Regions from separate parts of the Homo sapiens genome. Here region 1 is linked to region 2. The links are contacts of gene promoters, found by promoter capture Hi-C in blood cells and fetal thymus (Javierre and others, 2016). All regions are on one chromosome and are shown on one strand. The core of a region is centred on a gene start or on the middle of the fragment in contact, and the rest is flanking DNA. Distances in the headings are between cores, read along the strand shown.

Region 1 (4,663 bases), core at 454-2,953, 630 kb before region 2:
GCTTGAAGAGCATTTCACTTGAGTCATCTAGGACGTCCCTCCACCCAGTGGCCTGCTCCCTTGCCTCCTCCATTGGCAGTACTAAGCCTAACTTAGTGAATGAAGTGATCCAGGTTGTGGCTGCTGGATACTCCCCTGCCCCCCTTTCTAACATGCCTCTTTGCAGGCCCCAGAGCCCTCAGGCTATGGCCTCGCTGCAGAGGCTGCCCTGAAGCTGCCTTCTTGAGCAGTGGCCCCTGCTCCAAACCTCTTGAAGACCTTTCCGCATTCCCCCAGCTCCTTCTGAAGCCTTGTCTTGGCTGATACATGGATGTTGATGGCCTCCCTTGTTGCTTCTCCCAGCAGTGTTTACCAAGGGTGTTTGGGAAAGGCTTGCATGATATCACAGGGCAGCTAGAGGGGAGAAGTGTTGGGAGACTGGAAAGGCCTCTGTGTGATCCCACTAATCATATTATCAAGTAGCAATCCATATACTCTTTTTTTTTTTTTTTTGAGATAGAATCTTGCTCTGTCACCCAGGCTGGAGTGCAGTGGTGGATCTCGGCTCACTACAACCTCCACCTCCTAGGTTCAAGCGATTCTCCGGCCTCAGCCTCCTGAGTAGCTGGGACTACAGGCATGCGTCACCATGCCTGGCTAAGTTTTGTATTTTTAGTAGAGATGGGGTTTCACCATGTTGGCCAGGCTGGTCTCAAACTCCTAACCTCAAGTTATCCACCTGCCTCAGCCTCCCAAAGTGCTGGGATTACAGGAGTAAGCCACCATGCCCGGCCAACCCATATACTCTACCTGCTCAGGGCAACCAGCTCACACCACTGAGAGCTGTATCACCTGCAGGATGTGCTGAGTACCACACACTCTGGTTGGATGGCTGGAATAGAGAATAGGGCTGCCAGATAAACCCCTACACTTGGGGCATTTTACATAGAAATGTTGGGAAATATGCAAATCAGGGTGGGAGGTGGTTTTGAATTATAGGCATCAGTTCGTCTTCTCTTAACCTCCAAGAAAATAAATTATCTCATCACTGCCCCCACCTCTCACTTCATCACTATGGGGAAATGAAACTCCTATTTAATACTTTCATCAACTCTTCCTTCACTGGAGAAGTCACTTTTCCCATTTCATCCAAAATGCTTCACTGCTTCTCAGCTCTGCTTCTCACCACACTATCAAGTTCCTTAGCCCTAGGATCTAGGCTTAGGGTGGAGGTGGAAAGAGTTGCAAGTCCTCTTACTCCTAGGCAGCTCCCTGACTTGCACTACTGGGAGGCTGAAAGTGCCCCCACTAAAGCTCCTTTGGGTTAAGACACTGGTGACTTGTATTAAACACTAAATGTGTTCTTTGGGGAAAAAAAACCATACTAATCCATCATTACTCAAGAAAACCTTCTCAGAAAAAAAAATGAATCCATCATCACTCATGAAAACCTTCTCAAGAAAGAACATACAAGATTCACCTGACATTCATTGCACAGTACACAGGTCCACATGCTTTATCTGGTTTCCAGATCCAAAAAAGTTCTGATAATCCATTATTTTCATAAGCTTGACATCAAAATTCATTAGATGGCAAAACCTGACCTAAACTGATATAAAGTGTTTAAAAATATTTGTCCCACTGAGTGTGAATTTTCATGGAATCTGCTGAATAGTGTGTTGGATTACAGGAAGCTGTCCAGAGCTCACTGAGACCTAATATATGGTCCTTGCAAAATATAAAACATTCTGGATTCTGAACACCTCTGGTCTTACAAGATTCAGATAAGGGATCATGGACTTGAACTTGGATACATTGGTTTTCTGAGGAAGGCATCCTTGGGTTGTGTAGAGACAGAGCACTACATCCAGGAAGCTTTATAGCTTGCAGAATGTCCTCTTGGCCACGTTCACTTTTGACCCTCATTGCATCATTGCGAGGCAATCAGGGCAGATATCAATAGCTTCATTTTGCAAACAAGGATACTTGGGGTTCAGAGAGTGAAGCCACCTCCCCATGGTTTGCAAGTAGTAGAGCACAGGCTCAAATCTAATCTTCTAAACAAAGTACTGACATGTGGCTGAGGGCCAGTCCTGAAGCCAGGCAAAGATACAGAAAGTGACACTTTGCATCCTGGCATCCTGAGAGGTGTCCAGGCCGTTTTTCTTCTCACCCCCCATGTGACCTAAATCCTTGGGGATACTGGCAGGCTGACTGACTATATTAAGGACTTGAAATGGCACAACCATTGTGTGAGTGTGAGGATCCCTTCAGAGAAAACTGGCCAAGCTGCCAAGGAGCCTATCAGTAGAGGTTCAGGAGCACCAGGGCAGCAACACCACTCTCACCTTCCTCTTTCTAATGTCCCTGGAAAATGATAAAAATGGCGATAGAAAACATTTATATAGGCTGGACACGGTGGCTCACACCTGTAATCCCAGCATTTTGGGAGACTGAGGCAAGTGGATTGCTTGAGGCCAGGAGTTTGAGACCAGCCAACATGGCAAAACCCCGTCACTACTAAAAATACAAAAAATTAGCCGGGCATGGTGGCACACGCCTGTGATCCCAGCTACTCGGGAGGCTAAGGTGGGAGACTCACTTGAACCTGGGAGACGGAGGTTGCAGTGAGCTGAGATCACGCCACTGCACTCCAGTGTGAGTGGCAGAGTGAGACTCCGTCTCAAAAAAAAAAAGCCAGCGCGGTGGCTCACGCCTGTAATCCCAGCACTTTGGGAGGCCAAGGCGGGCGGATCATGAGGTCAGGAGATCGAGACCATCCTGGCTAACACGGTGAAAACCTGTCTCTACAAAAAAAAATACAAAAAATTAGCCAGGTGTGGTGGCGGGCGCCTGTAGTCCCAACTACTCAGGAGGCTGAGGCAGGAGAATGGCGTGAACCCAGGAGGCGGAGGTTGCAGTGAGCCGAGATTGCGCCACTGCACTCCAGCCTGGGTGCGAGAGGGAAACTCTGTCTCAAAAAAAAAAAAAAAAAAAAGAAAGAAAACAGAAAGAGAGAGAGAGAGAAAGGAAGGAAGGAAGGAAGGAAGGGAAGAAAGAGAACGTTTATATAGTGCTACATGCCAGACACTGTTCTAAGTACCTTACATTATTAGCTTATGTAATCCTCACAACAGCCCTCTTTAGTAGCTGCTTTGAATATCCCCCATTTAACAGATGAGGAGATGAAGTACTGGGAAGTTAAGTCATTTGCCCAGGGCCACAAAGGTCATAAAAGTTAGCAGAGTTGGGACATAAACCCAGGCAGTCTGGCTCCCAAGTGCATATTCTAGAGAGTCACTATGCCCAGGCTGCTCTGAAGGTCATGAGTTGAAGACTGAATTGGGGAAGAATCCAGCTCCCTTGCAGACCTGAGTCACTCTTTGCCCAGGGATCTTTACCCTGGCTCCTTTGCAAAGTCTTCTTCCTGTTCTGCTTGAGCTCTAGTGCCCCTATGCTCCAGGGAGGCAGCCCTTCCTGCCAATACCTGTCTACAGTACAACCCCTTCCCACCTCTTCCATCCCACACTCACCTTAAAACCCATCGGGCGGAGCTTACATGCTATTTCTGCATCATGCAGTGCATTCTCATGAGACTCCAAGGTGAAATAAATCTGAGACCGATTGCTATAAAGCAAGTGGTCATTTGGAGCTGTCAAAATAAGAAAGAAAAACCTTTATTAATGGCCCCCAGCGCAAGCAGGTGTTAAGTCCTGTATGAGTATGGATCTTGAGCAAATGATAAGTTTTCTAGGACTTTTCTACTGGAGATCAAAAGGGTTAGGCTCTATTTCTAGTCCTAATATTGTCCTGCCTTCTATACCCCCAGCCACTCTGGGCCTGAGGTTCCCCAACTGCAAAGTCATTTTTGCCCCCGCTCACAAGTGGTTCATTAGAGGCCCCGTGGTGTCAGTGGTGCATTAGACACTTTGACATAGGCGAGATGTGGCTACACACGGCTAGTGTCCGGCAGCCTGGTTTATGAGTGCAGTATTACCAACAAGAAAACAGGCCAGGTAGGAAGGAGAGAGAGGTGGGCAGATGTGACCCCTATCTGAACCACCAAGAAGACAAATCCAAGTTACTTTTCCAGGTGGGAATGACTGATGACATTAGTAACACCTTTGTCTACAAAGCCCAGCACATATGAAGATTTCTTGAAGAAAATGGAAATACATTTACATGGTCCCATCCTCTCATTTCAAATGGCCAAATGTAAATGAACTTGGACAAGGTTTCTGGGAATAAGGTGAGGCCGGCTCTCACCAAAAACTCTGAATTACTAGATGTCAGAGCTGGACAGGCTATTAGAGATTATCTGGCTCAATCAACCCATTCTTCAGATGGGAAAATCAAGCCCAGAGAAGGGAAGGCATTTTCTCAAGGTCACACGGCTAGCTGGGCAGTCACTGATAACTGGTCAGACTTTGAAGCTTTGAAGCTGGGATGTGGGGAGCAGGTTCCTTTTTCTGAAGGTGTGTGCAGTACTTGGAATAATACGGACACAATGGCCATCTTCCAGAACAGAGAGCCTCCTTTCCTCTTAGAAGGGTAAAGCTGGCCTTGACATTTTCACCCTGACTTCTCTGAGGGGATTAACAAAGATGCAAGGAAGAACTTCCAGGGGAATGTGGTGGCAACAGAGGAGAAGGGTGAGGGCAGGAAGGGGCTTTCCTGGCCCCTG
Region 2 (4,730 bases), core at 2-2,501:
AACATCTTGCAGAATTAGATAAAGAACACAAAGCTGGGGCTCTCCTTCCAATCACCAGATTACTCAGCACTTGTTTGTCCCTCTGCAGTCAGTTGTGCACATTTCTTCTGTCTGGCCATCCTTTTAGACCGCATTCTGCCTAATAGGGACCGTGTATTCGATTTCCTTTACCTCACGATAAGGTGTTATTTTAATAAAACACTGTTGATCTAGAGTACATTCGCTAGAGGACTTTCTTAAGCAAATACCCAACCTTCCCCCCGCTCCTTTTCGCTGTGTGCAAGAAAAAGAGGACGGCAAATAGGGGAGAGTTACAGCCACCTCTGAAGTGAATAGGTAAGTTAGCGGTAAACGGGAGAATAAAAAACTACAAGTTACATTTCTCCTGTTACTGCTCCTTTAATCTACGGTCCCCGAGGCCAAAACGGATGTTTGAAAGGTAAGCTCAGAACCCCACAGATACAAATCTCCGACTCAGGCACGTAAGCTGTTCCCCCTCACAGAAGGCTGGATCAGAAGAGAAACGGGCTCCGAGACCGACCCTGGGACCGTTCAGTAGGGAAACGGCCGGGAGGCTGCCCGAGGTGGCTGACTCCCCCTTCTCCGAGTCACCCCGCCCTAAGAAGCCCCAGGTCTGGGTTCTGAAGTCCTCCAGTGAGACGGGGAGGAACAGCGGTGGCGGACACAGCGGGACCTGGGAGGGGTGTAGGGGGAAGACACAGGAGATGCGGGGGGCTTGGGATGCCCGGCTTCCTGTCATAGCTGCAGTCACTTACCCCACGGGGTAGCCGCCCCCTAGGTGCACATCTTCAGGGGCATCATAGAATTCCTCGGTGTCGCTTTCCGACGCCATTTATAGGACACACCCGCGGGTGAGGGGGCCGGCGCCGCCTGGAGGAAGGGTGACTCTTGTCTCCTCCTCGTCGACCTCCACCCGGGCGAGACTGGGGAAGTGGGTCTCGGGCGAGGCTGAGGGAGCAGACGATCTGTAGCGAGGAGACTGTTAAGGAAAGGGGGCCGCCCTCAGTTGCCGGGCTTCGGGAATGACCGGCAAAGCGGCCGCCTGAAGAGGCGGCGGTTGGTCCAGGGAATGTTGCTGCCACCGCTCCCAGTGATAGGTGTATAAGGAGCGCGAAAGAGGCGGTGGCTCCTCGCAGTAAGGGAAGAAGGGCGCGCCGGCTACAGCGGCTCCAGTTTCTCCCGCAGCAGCAATTTACAGCAGCTGGAAGAGCTAGTTGCCCGCAAAATACCGACGCGCACCTACCCTCGCGAGATTTCGGAGGGGCGGTAATACGTGGGCGGGGCGAAGAGGTGGCGGGGGCGGTTCCAGAGAGGCAGCGCTCCGATTACTTCGGCCCGAGAAGCCTATCAAAACGGCGCAAGCGCGTTGAGGGCGTTCGGTGAGGGCCGGAAGTAGCCGAGAAGGGAGGGGGTGAGCCTCCCGAAGGGAGGAGTCTAGGACCTGCGCAGGAGCAGCGTGGTGCCCTGGCTCTGAGAGCGCGCGGCCGACGTAGGTGGGGTCAGGCAGAAAGTCTTACTCCCTAACTCTGCAGTTCCAAAGAGACGCGTTTTGAGAGGGGTGATTTTGAGTCGGTCTTTTACTTGTAAAGAAATACTCTCGGGAAACGTTGGTGTGGACATTTTGGCGTATATTTACGATGTCTTACTATCCAAGCCCGGAATGTCCCACCCTAGGGCGTCGGCAGGTCCACCACCTCTGGCGTTACGAGAATAACTCGCCCTTATTCACTACGAGATCTCTAATTGAGATCCCTAGATATGATCCTGCCGGCCAGAGGGTGGGGTCCTTGAGATATACACGGGGAGTGTGCCAGTTCCATGGTGTAATGATGGATTTATTGCTGGAGCTGAGCCAGTATTAGGCCTCCGGTTACTTTTTCTCCGCACATGTCTGTCGCTGCCAACACAGTGTGAGAGAAGTTCTTACATACTGCCCAAGATGTGCGTCAGCTAAATGGTAAATATTTATTGAGCAGATATCATTGCAAGCCTACGAGCTAATGGCTTAATTCTGATCCTCAACTGCCCAGCGTCCGGTGATAAAAATAGAAAGGTACTTTTTAAAAAACCGAGATGTTCCTTCTTAAACCACGGGTCATTGACCATCAAGGTGATAACATTGACTTTCAGTATGATCACACAGCATATTTATTTCTCCAACTGACATCATGATAGGCATTTTGAGCTGTTCGTGCAGCCTCAATTAGTATTCAAGAAAAGGCTGGATTGGAGCCAGGGGTATGGTCTCAGAGAAACTGGAAAGGGGCTCTAGACTTTGTCAAGCAATCAGGGCAAGGTCTGCTGTGGTCTAGTGGACTTGGGTAAAAACCAAATGTCATATACTGTATATTCTATAATACCCCAGGGAGTTTAGGGAAAACACTGCGTAATCAAATATATTAATATTTTTGCAGCAAGATATATGATTGTTCATACGGGATAAATAAATACAAGTAAATAGCCTCATTCAGTTTGAGTCAGACGCTTCTGCCAAATAAGTTTAAGATAGATCTATTTGACTGTCAAATAAATTACTAAAAAAAAAAAAAAACAGAAACTTGGTTTCCAGAGCTTTTGAAGTTTCAGAATTGGAGACAAGGGATTTGTGGATCCTTGTGAGGGTATGACTTTTGTCAAACCTAAAAATTATTAGGTTTTATGTGTCTTAAACATGTTAATTAACTTCCTAGGTATAAAAATGTAACTCAAAGTACTAACTTTTAAAAACGTTTTGCTCACTAAGATAGGTTTTTTTGTTTTCTTTTTGGATTATGGAAAGATACCAGATATAAGGTAGGGAAATATATATTTATGGAAAGATGTTAACTACCTGAATGTATTCTCTTCCTAGATATCTAATAGTGAATTTATGGCTTCCAAAGAAAAAAAAGTTAGTTTTCTCTATATGATAGAGGTGTTAGTTCCAGGCGCGGTGGCTCACGCCCGTAATCCCTGCACTTTGGGAGGCCGAGGCAGGCGGATTTCTTGAGCTCAAGAGTTTCAGACCAGCCTGGGCAACATGGTGAAACCCTGTCTCTACAAAAAATTCAAAATTTAACTGGGTGTGGTGGCATGTGCCTATGGTCTCAACTACTGTGGAGGCTGAGGTGGGAGAATCGCTTGAGCCCAGGAGGTTGAGGCTACAGTGAGCTGAGATAGCACCACTACACTCCAGACTGGGCAGCAGAGCCACACCCTGTCTCTCACACACACACACAAAAAACAACAGCAACAACAAAAACAAAATGCCGTGTGTGGAAACCAGTCGCTCAGTTCAGTAAACATATACAATTTGGTGTCATGAAGCGTTCTAGATGCTGAGGACAATTGACAGATTAAAAAGACAACTAGATCCGGCGCGGTGGCTCACACCTGTAATCCTAACACTTTGGAAGGCCGAGGTGCGCAGATCACTTGAGGTCAGGAGTTCGAGACCAGTCTGGCCAACATGGCAAAATCCTGTCTCTACTAAAAATACAAAAGTTAGGGGGGCGTGGTGGCACTTGCCTGTTGTCCCAGCTACTCGGGAGGCTGAGGTAGGAGAATTGCTTGAACCTGGGAGGCGGAGGTTGCAGTGAGCTGAGATCCCGCCGCTGCATTCCAGCCTGGGCGACAGAGGGAGACTCTGTCTCAAAAACAACAACAACAACAACAACAAAAACAAAACAGAAAAAGACAACTTAAGTTTCTGCCTACAAAAAGCTAATAATCTAGCAGTGGAGACAAATACGGAGTCCTAGTTTGGTGCTCTGTTTTTTTTCAATATACCATATCAGCTCTCTTGGACCTTTTAAGCTGCCTTAAACATTATACTTAGAAAAAGGTAAAATGGATAGGAATGATAAACTGGTAACATTTTTAGAGCTTTTAAAGTTTCCGTTTAAATGCTTTTATCAATTGCATGAGAAAGCCAATTGCTAGAATGAATTGCTGGAAACGTTAAAACACATATAAATACTGCCCATCGTCACTTTTTTTTGTTTTTTTTTTTTTTGAGATGGAGTCTCGCTCTGTCGCCCAGGCTGGAGTGCAGTGGCTCGATCTCTGCTCACTGCAAGCTCCGCCTCCCGGGTTCACGCCATTCTCCTGCCTCAGCCTCCCGAGTAACTGGGACTACAGGTGCTAGCCACCACGACCGGCTAATTTTTTTGTATTTTTAGTAGAGACGGGGTTTCACCGTGTTAGCCAGGATGGTCTCGATCTCCTGACCTCTTGATCCGTCCGCCTCGGCCTCCCAAAGTGCTGGGATTACAGGCGTGAGCCACCGCGCCCGGCCCCATCATCACTTTTAAAGATGTAAAAGATGTGTTTATTTTGCCTGAAATATCAGTTCTTGAGTTTTAAAGCAGCAGATTTTAGGTATCATCCAAGGCAGTGGTTTTGAAGCTTTTCTCTGTATTAGAAATGGAACCTTAATCAAACTTAATTTTATGCAAAAGTCGATATAGTATACAAATAAAAACTGCTCTATTTGAAACAGGGTTTCAAAGTTGAGGTCCCTGTCTGTTTGACCTTCCTTGAATCTCCGGAGACTGTCCTAAGGCCCGATAAAAAAAAAGAACAAATGAAAAACTATTGGTCCAAAGCAGAGGTTGGCAAATTATGGTCCACTGGACAAATCTGTCCCACTCTCTGTTTTTGTAAATAACATATTGTTGGAACATAGCCAGGACTATTTGTTTATATATTGCACATGGCCGCTATCATGG

What was found. Contacts are between HindIII fragments. The CHiCAGO score rates a contact against its expected background, and 5 or more counts as called.
Region 1: a fragment that was not itself captured here is called in contact with the fragment with the promoter of WDR44 in region 2 in 1 of 17 cell types (activated CD4 T cells); the score reaches 5.8 in activated CD4 T cells.

The regions. Positions count from the first base shown.
Region 1 is chrX:118,977,313-118,981,975 of GRCh38, reverse strand. It overlaps LONRF3 (LON peptidase N-terminal domain and ring finger 3), which reads right to left. Exons shown (of 11, transcript NM_001031855.3): 2 at 3,513-3,631. Among named protein-coding and RNA genes, the nearest start is that of LONRF3, 5.0 kb to the right of the region's middle. The HindIII fragment of the contact is 307 bases long and covers 1,550-1,856 here.
Region 2 is chrX:118,342,627-118,347,356 of GRCh38, reverse strand. WDR44 (WD repeat domain 44) reads right to left here and starts at 1,251. Exons shown (of 20, transcript NM_019045.5): 1 at 777-1,251. The coding sequence starts at 853. RefSeq lists enhancers at 576-1,119, 1,661-1,710, 1,901-2,020. The HindIII fragment of the contact is 5,332 bases long and covers 1-4,409 here.